2 separate regions of the Homo sapiens genome follow, and region 1 is linked to region 2. The links are contacts of gene promoters, found by promoter capture Hi-C in human tissues and cell types (Jung and others, 2019). All regions are on one chromosome and are shown on one strand. Each heading gives the region's core, a stretch centred on a gene start or on the middle of the fragment in contact. The rest is flanking DNA. Distances are from core to core; before and after follow the strand shown.

Region 1 (4,393 bases), core at 428-2,927, 150 kb before region 2:
TTTATTGCAAGTTTATAAAAGTTTTAATACATTAAGTGACTATGTTTAACAACCAGCTTACACAATCCCTGAAAATGTAGCGATTGGTTCTTGTGAGCTGGTATGAGCTGGCTCTAGGACACCACTGTGTGAAAGGGAGCAGAAATGTTGCTCATTGGAGGTTCAAAGAGAGAGTCTTGTCAGAATCTTTATAAGTCAAAGGTTCCTAAGGCAGGGATCCTTGAAATGGAAAATAAATCAGCAAATAGAAACTCTAGTTTACCAAAGACTTACCTTTCATTCTTTCTAAAAGGGTTCCATAGCCCAAGTCATACTGGTAGGTGAGGATAAAGCTTAATGGAACAATCGGGACCAGGAAGGCTGGCTTCTTTTTTTTAATCGCTCTGTTTCAAGAATTAAAAGAAGAACCAATATCAAAAAATAACCTGTAAATACATATCTGTATACTTAAAGAAAAAAAAATACCTGCTTTTTGGAAGAATGCCTTTTCCTTCAGAAGTTACTTAACACATTTGATAATTCTATGGAAATAGGATTTCCTTACCCAATACCCCTAACCAGATTCTGCAGTTCTCAAGGGCAAGGTCTGTGACTTGCTCATCTTTATTTGACTCTGAAGCTCAGGTTCCTTGTTTTTAAAATGAGTAAGGATTGGTATCTACCACTAAGGGATTGTGGAGATAAACACATAGAGCCCTTCTTGGTGTCAAGTTGGTGCTCTCTCTCTCTAACTAATAAAGTAGAGAAAAAGACAGAAGCAACCTAGGAAACTAAATTAACTGTTACTGCCTTGCTTTCACAGAGTTACCCCCAAGGACTAAGGTTAATAGGTTACTTTGGTTACATACACTATTTGGACCAAAGTCTTATTCTGGCCAACTTCATAATAAAATGGTAATGGAAAACACAAAAAGAAGTAAATGACTGAAGAAAATGTTAAATAGCAAACATACCCAGCTGTTAAAGAGATGGCTGCAAGGCCAAAAAAAGTTCCAAAATATTTGAGGAATTCCCGAGACCACGCAATCTGCATGGCCATTTGTCTTTCCCTCATTTCACTCTGCATGATGAGCTGCCTTTCCAGCTAAGGACAAAACAAAAGACAAAGTAAAGTTACTCATCTTTGGAATCTGAACAAATAGTTAATAATCTGTTTTTCCAGCGGATTCATTCTTCAATTGCTTTAATTCATGTTTTTTCAAAAAAATCTCAACAGACTTTGACTAAAGTTCCTTTGGACAGCTCTCACCAACTGTCACCTTGGCAGTGAAATCTTCCTGGAATAAATACAGAATAAATATCAATATTCCATTTTTACACCCTGAGGTCTTGACTGCCTGTGGTCTGGAGCTTTAGCCAAGTCTCAAATAAATGTCCAGCTTTTCCTATTGGATGTGTGGAAAGATCTATGGGTCTTTAAATGTAGATACATCTTATTGGCCTTTATTTCTACTTGCATGGAAATCTGCCTTCCAAATCCATTCCAAATTGAAATTTATTTGGAGTATTTATTTGCTCCATATCATACCACAATATCATAGTAGATGGGTGTTGTTTTGAGACATCTATAGAGATTTTTCTTTGCCACATTTTTCTCGCCTCAAGTTCTTCACCACTTTGTTCAGTGCCTTTCACTGCTTTGAACAGAAGGCAGATGGCTCAGAACAGAGAAGGAAACTGAATTTCTAAATTGATTTTTAGAAAATACTCAGGAGAAGCAACTGTCTGTAAACCCAAGCCCATTATTTGAAGAGAGTTATATTCTTGACAGAGAAAAGTGTTGTTGGCATTGTTGTTGATGTTTTAATTCTAAAATCTTGGCACTACATGTCATTAGCCAAGCTAGAGGGCAATACACAGGGAGTTCATGATGCAAGGAAGAGGAGAGGAAGGACTAATAATGTGATTTAGTTTTCCCTCCATGCCCTCTTTCTACTGAGGGGAGTAGCTGGGAGGGGCGAATGATAGTTTAGATGTAAAGATGGGGCTTGGCTCCTTGGCCTATTTGGGAGGTTAAATCACCAGAAGATATGACGGAAGCCTCAGATGGGTTTGGGAATCCCTAAACAGAGAAGACTTGTGGCCTTGCTTCCTGCGGAGAATTCTGGGAGGGAGCAGCTACAGCACAGCAGAAATGGTTTCAGGGCAGACCTTGCAGAGAGCACACCTAAGAGAGGCCGCTTCCATCTCCCTCAACAGCCAAGGGGTGTGGAGGAAGTCTGCAAGGTTCTCACATCAGCTGGAGAGGGGCACAGAAGGTAACTGCGGATTGAGAGCAGGGGGACTACCAATGAGTCCAAAACCTAGAGCCAGCGGACCCCATAACAGACACTTGGGGAGTGAACATAAGCCAGTGGCTGGGTGGGGAAGGCCACTCACTGGATCCCAGAGGATCAGCAGCACCCGAGAGTGCTTTTCTGCTTTGTTTTCTGTTCAATCAACCTGGACAGCGCCACATGATGTTCCCTAAGGGCATGTGGCCATGTTCCAGGCTGGCGTAACCATCATCGCCATACTCTCAGGTGCTACTGATCCTCTGGGATCCAGTGGCCTTCCCCACTCAGCCACTGGCTTATATTCACTCCCAAGTGTGTGTTATGGGGTCCCCTGGCCCAAGGTTTTGGACTCTGGTAGGCCACCTGCTCTCAATCTTCAGCTACCTTCTCTGGCCCTCTCCAGCTGATGTGAGAACCTTGCAGACTTTCTTCACACCCCTTGGCCGCTGAGGGAGACGGAAGTGGCCTCTCTTAGGCATGCTCTCTGTGAGGTCTGCTCTGAAACCATTTATGCTCTGCAGTACCTGCTCCCTCCCAACATTCTCCACAGGAAGCAGGGCCATAATTCTCTGTCTGGGGATCCCCAGATGCATCTGGCTAGATGTGCCTTCCCTGATGCTGGTGCCACCTGAGATCACCTGGACCCAAGCCTAGGTCATACCAGGGAAAAGATGAACGGAGAAGGGGAGGAGGAAAGCTGAATTCAACTATTTTCTCCCAAAGAACCGAGTTTTAAACTAGAAGTAATTGAGTAACTTTGACTTGTCAAAATTAAATTTGCTGTCACCAAGAGAAACTGAGGTTCATTTTGAGTTCAATTAGAGTTTAAAAATAGATGTGTTTTTGCACAAGATTAGTGTGTGAAATTCATCCTTGCCACATTACTTATTTACAAAACTTACATACTGATTCATCATATCCCCCAAAGTGATGTAAATACAGCAATTAATTATTTGTGTTTTTATCAAAAGGCAGCAAACAAGAAATAGAGGAGTCCAGACTGGTTCTAAACCTTTGCTGCACATCATGAGCATCTGGGGAGATTTTCAAAGGTCTAGTAACCAGATATACCTCCCAGACCAACTAAACCAAGTGGGATCAATTAAGTCAGGATCTGGAGGTAAAATCAGGCATCCATAATTTCTAAAGGCTTCCAGATAGTTCCCGTGTGCAGCCGGGACTGAGAACCGTCACCTGAAATGAAAGACTCATAGCTCATATTTTTTTTCCCACAAAAGATCAACCTGAGATATCAACCTGAAAGAGATTACCTGGGAACTCTCAAAAGATTGTGAGCAGAGGGGCTTTCAGGGTGATGGAGTTAATCTGTATGGTACTATCGTGGTGGATACATGACATTCTGCATTTGTCAAAACTCATAAAACTTTACAGCACAGAGTGAACCTTAGTGCATACAAATTTTACAAATCAGCCAAAAGGGCAAGGGATGCACAAGATGGAATGGGGACTGTGACAAAATAATCTGACTGTGCTACAAATGTGTGGCACAACCTCAATGAAGGGTTGGGGGAAAAGAACTGATCTATCTTTGGAAAATGGTATTTTGACTAAAAACTGTAAAACTAAAGACAAAGGACTATACATAAACACTGTACTCTAGTGAGTAAAACTGTCTCTCACGAGTTACAGATTAACAATTCTGAAACTGCTTTACATGTCTACTGGAGATGAGCAACAAGTAAATTGACAGAAGATGGTGGAAGCCAGGTTTCTTATTATTAAACAGGGAGATTACAAACAAGCAAGAGGAAAAGACTAGAATGAACCATGTGGTACTGGATTAGAGCCAATGACATCCGTATGAACTCATGCTTAGTGCTTGATACAGACATAGACAAGGATGAAATTATAGATATGCATATCTATATGCATGCATAGATTAGGCATTCATGGCTTAGTGTAAGTACATACATTTTCTCAGCTCTGTCCACTGACAGGGCATAGAGGCAATAACAACCCCTTGCAAACAAGCATACCTAACACCCAGAAACACCCAGACATGATTTCTACTCTCCAAAAAAAAATAAATAAATAAACCAGGGCTCCTTAGAGAAATAGCTGGCCTAGGACTGGGGCAAGAAATGTATAAGAGGAGC
Region 2 (4,402 bases), core at 1,321-3,820:
CTGGGTATATACCCAAAGAAATGTAAATCATTCTATCACAAAGACACATGCACACACATGTTCATCATAGCACTATTCACAATAGCAAAGACATGGAATCAACCTAAATGCCCATCAACGACAGACTGGATAAAGAAAATGTGGTACATATACACCAAGGAATACTATAGAGCCGTAAAAAAGAGCATGTCCTTTGCGGGAACATGGATGGAGCTGGAAGTCATTATGCTTAGCAAATTAATGCAGGAACAGAAAACCAAATACCACATGTGTTCACATATAAGTGGGAGCTAAGTGATAAGAACACATGGACACAAAGAGGGGAACAACACAAACTGGAGCCTAGCTGAGGGTGGAGGCCCCAGGGAGGAGGGAGATGAGCAAAAAAAAAAAAAAAAAAAAAAAAAAAAAAAAAAAAAATGACTGGGTTCTAGGCTTAGTATCTAGGGGACAAAATAATCTGTATGACAAACCTCCATGACACGAGTTTACCTATGTAAAATAAAAGTTTAACAAAAAACTAAAAAAGTTACCTATGTAAAACAAAAGTTTAACAAAAAACTAAAAAAAGTTACCTCCACCCAGAAATGCCTTTATTAACACTTTGGTTTGTAACCCTCCATTATTTTCTCTAGACATATAGATTTATGAGGCAGGCTAATGTGCTGAGACACTAGCTTGAGTTTCATTTGGCCTTGCTGTGAATATACCTGGGCCTTCCTTTGCTTCAGGATGCCCTAAACTGTGGCAAAGCAGAGCTGAACTGCCCAAAGGAAAGTGTGAAGAGGAGAGGCAGGCCAAGCCTGGAGAAAGGCTACCCAAGAGAGAGGAAAGGAAACTGTGGTGAGTGCACCTCACTCCTAAAGAAGGACAGGAACTCTGGTAGGTGAGGTGTGTTTTCCATAGATACTAAAACTCAAAGCCACACAGGGGACATATGTCCATTCCTCAGCCAGTCACTGTGGCCAGGAACAGAGGGTCAGGTAAGAGAATGGCAACTCCTAAGGAAACCACATGCCTGGAGCCGTGGGTGTAGAAGCAGATCCCCAGAGGAAGCACGGGTCCCACAGACACAGTCCCAACTCTTGCCGTCTAGGCAGCCACTCCCATCTGTAGGTACTACACAGCTTCGTAGTACTTCTTAAAGTACTTCTTGTTCAAGCGATGGGACGAAAAGAGGATGCAGGACAAGGAGGAGGAAAGGAGATCCTTGCTTTTGTAGAAGAAACAAGGAGGCAGGGAAGGCTTAGAGGACAGGCAAGGAGAGATGTTTTCTTAAAAACATCCTCTGTCTGAGTGTTCAGCCCCACATCTCTGCTGGTCCTACCCCTATAAGCACAAGGAAAAGGGCGGGAGGCAGCAGGAGAAGGATTGATCATTCAGGCCTATATTCAAGTTTGCCTTTTCTTGCCATGTGGTTTTAATCTCACCAATCACAAGCCTGAAGGTATAGTGGGGCCACTGAGGTCCGAGTTCAAATTCAGCCATGCAACTAAGGAAACATTGTTTGATCTTGGTCCTGTTTTCTCATGTGTAAAATGGGTCTAACTCTAAACCACACATTGCACTGAGAATGAAATGAGGCACTATGAAATGAAGTGAGGTTAGTTGAATAATGTTCCCCCCAAATTCATGTCTACTGAGGACCTCAGAATGTGACTATATTTGGAAGTAGGGTCTACGCAGATGTAGTCTAAATGAGGTCATACTGCATTAGGGTGGGCACTAATCAAACGGATGGTATCCTCATAAGAGGAGAGGAATGTAGAGATACACACAGAAAAGAATGTCATTTGAAGATGGAGGCAGAGATTGGAGTGATACAACTATAAGTCAGGGAATGCCAAGGACTTGAGGTCATGTGTTACAGAAGCCCTAGGAAATGAGTCAATTTCCTGGCACAGCACTAAGACATGCTGGTATTCTTCATTCCATCCCTTTCCCCTATTCCTAAATGTGCTCCAGGGACAATGGGGAAGCTGGAGCACATATAAGAATAGGGGAAAGAGAGGGAATAAAAGGGTATTAAAAACTCTCAAGGTATGTTAAAAAAAAGACTCTCAACAAACCAGGTATTGAAGGAACATACCTCAAAATAATAAGAGCCATCTATGATGAACCCACAGCCAACATCACACTGAATAGGCAAAAGCTGGAAGGATGCCCCTTGAAAACCGGCACAAGACAAGGCTGCCTTCTCTCACCACTCCTATTCACCATACTATTGGAAGTCCTGGCCAGAGCAATCAGGCAAGAGAAAGAAAGAAAAGGCATCCAAGAAGGAAGAGAGGAAGTCAAACTACCCATGTTTGCAGATGACATAATTTTATATCTAGAAAATCCCACAGTCTCAGCCCAAAAGCTCCTTAAGCTGATAAACTTCAGAAAGTTTCAGGATCCCACATGAACATACAAAAATCACTAGTATTCCTAAACACCAACCATAGCTAAGCCAAGAGCCAAATCAGGAATGCAATCCCATTCACAGACAAACTGCTAAAAGCAAAACCAAAACTTTCCAAATAAGCCAGGCTTTCGTCAGTTCCTCAGAACTAGTTCTGGTTTGACTCACTCTCATGTTACGGCAAACCTTAAGCTGAATGAACAACTTTTCTTCTCTTGAATATATCTTAACGCCAAATTTTGAGTGCTTTTTTGTTACCCATCCTCATATGTCCCAGCTAGAAAGAATCCTGGGTTGGAGCTACTGCATGTTGATTGTTTTGTTTTTCCTTTTGGCTGTTCATTTTGGTGGCTACTATAAGGAAATCTAACACAAACAGCAACTGTTTTTTGTTGTTTACTTTTGCATCTTTACTTGTGGAGCTGTGGCAAGTCCTCATGTGAGTAACGAGTGGGTTGAGATACTCTCATACTATTATGTTGTGGACCATGATGAGGCTGCCAGGGTGGGGGAAGGGTGGCCTACCTTCTCTCCACACCATTTGAGGCAAGAGACATTCTGCCTCAGAAATTGTGCTGAGGGGCACAAATAAGCTAATGTCCTCCTGCCCCAGATTTCTCTCACTTGTTCCTATGCATATTGTTCTTGTTGCTCAGTTTTATAAGGTGAGATATTTTCTGCACCAAATATGTGCACTGTAAAATAATATAACTATTCTTAAGATTGTCTCTCAGCTTAGAGTTTTCGGAGGCTTAATGGTGAAGAACTTAAAAATCTGTTTTCCTATGACTGACATCTGTTTGTGATTATCCATTTAGCAGACGGTGATCCCTCCAGGCTGGCCTTTGTTTACAAGCTATGCCTAAGAGGCAGCTGTTGGTGGAGGGGGAACAAAAACAAAAAACCCAAAACTATTATCTTAATAACTTATAGAGGTAATCATTATTGAACAAAAGCATGATTTGGGGACTATGGAAAGGCTTATTCTTTCCATATAAAATGATCAGCGAAAAGGTAGAAAAATTAAACAGAACTGAAATAATTGCTATTGATTGCTCACCGCCTGGATGCACTGAGTAGAAGAGCAAAGGCAATGGGTTCATGTGGAGGGGATGGAGGTGGAGAGGCTAAGCCTGAGTGAGATTACCAACTAATCAGGACTTTTAACCCAAAAATACTATGGCTCTGAGGGGCAGGGAATGAGAGACCTAAATTGACAAAATGCAGAGTAAAAATATTCAGTGTGAGCAGTAATGAGACAGTTGTATCAGGGTCAAATACGGAGTTGGCCTGGATGTCCTCCAAGCTCCTTTCCAAGCCTAAGATTCTGTGAGTGGATGAACAATCCTGGTCCTGCTGCTCTTGCCACTGGAACCTGATCTATTTGCCTTCATTATTTGAGGTCTCCCCATCATCAGGCTCTTTGTTGTCTGCTGCTTCAGGGTGTCTTCTCCCCAGATTTCTCCTGTTGGTGAGCTTTTCCATTGAACTGGAGCTCCTCACAGGCAAGAAGCACACCTTTAAGGTTCTCTGAGTCCCAAGTTCCTAGTGCAGTACCTGGCAATACACATAGGTGCTTAGTGGGTGCTTGCCGAATTGTTGAATGGATTTATTTGATGAAATGTCAGGAGAATCACCAGAAATGAAATGTTCGTGTAATGGACAGGGGGAAGTTTGAGGTTGATTTGAAAAAGGAGATGGTAGAGACAGTATTATGGGTCATGCTTCAGAGTTTATTTGCTTTACAATACATTGGACAGCAACCAGTAGATTGTTGTGTGTCATTTTAATTCCACATGCTAATGTCCAAATATGTCATATGTCTTAATTGTTGCATACGTGGGTTACTCTGTAAAGGGGCAACTGTAGTATCACCTCCTCATGCCACACCCTGCTCCACTGTAGCTGGGCTCGATAACCTTCAAATCAACTCACAGAATTCCAGGACAGACAAGAGCATCTGAAAGGTTATCTAGCCCCAGTCACCTCTGATGCCTT

What was found. Contacts are between HindIII fragments. The study calls those that stand out against the background at their distance.
Region 1: a fragment that was not itself captured here is called in contact with the fragment with the promoter of PDCD1LG2 in region 2 in 1 of the 25 tissues and cell types used here (thymus).

Annotation. Positions count from the first base shown.
Region 1 is chr9:5,360,805-5,365,197 of GRCh38, forward strand. PLGRKT (plasminogen receptor with a C-terminal lysine) reads right to left here. Exons shown (of 6, transcript NM_018465.4): 4 at 954-1,084; 5 at 274-383. Among named protein-coding and RNA genes, the nearest start is that of RLN1, 23 kb to the left of the region's middle. The HindIII fragment of the contact is 8,856 bases long and covers 1-4,393 here.
Region 2 is chr9:5,507,961-5,512,362 of GRCh38, forward strand. PDCD1LG2 (programmed cell death 1 ligand 2) reads left to right here and starts at 2,571. Exons shown (of 7, transcript NM_025239.4): 1 at 2,571-2,843. The region is part of intron 2 of INCR1 (interferon stimulated noncoding RNA 1); the gene reads right to left. RefSeq lists enhancers at 1,119-2,318, 2,260-2,339, 2,400-2,459, 2,620-2,669. The HindIII fragment of the contact is 28,529 bases long and covers 1-4,402 here.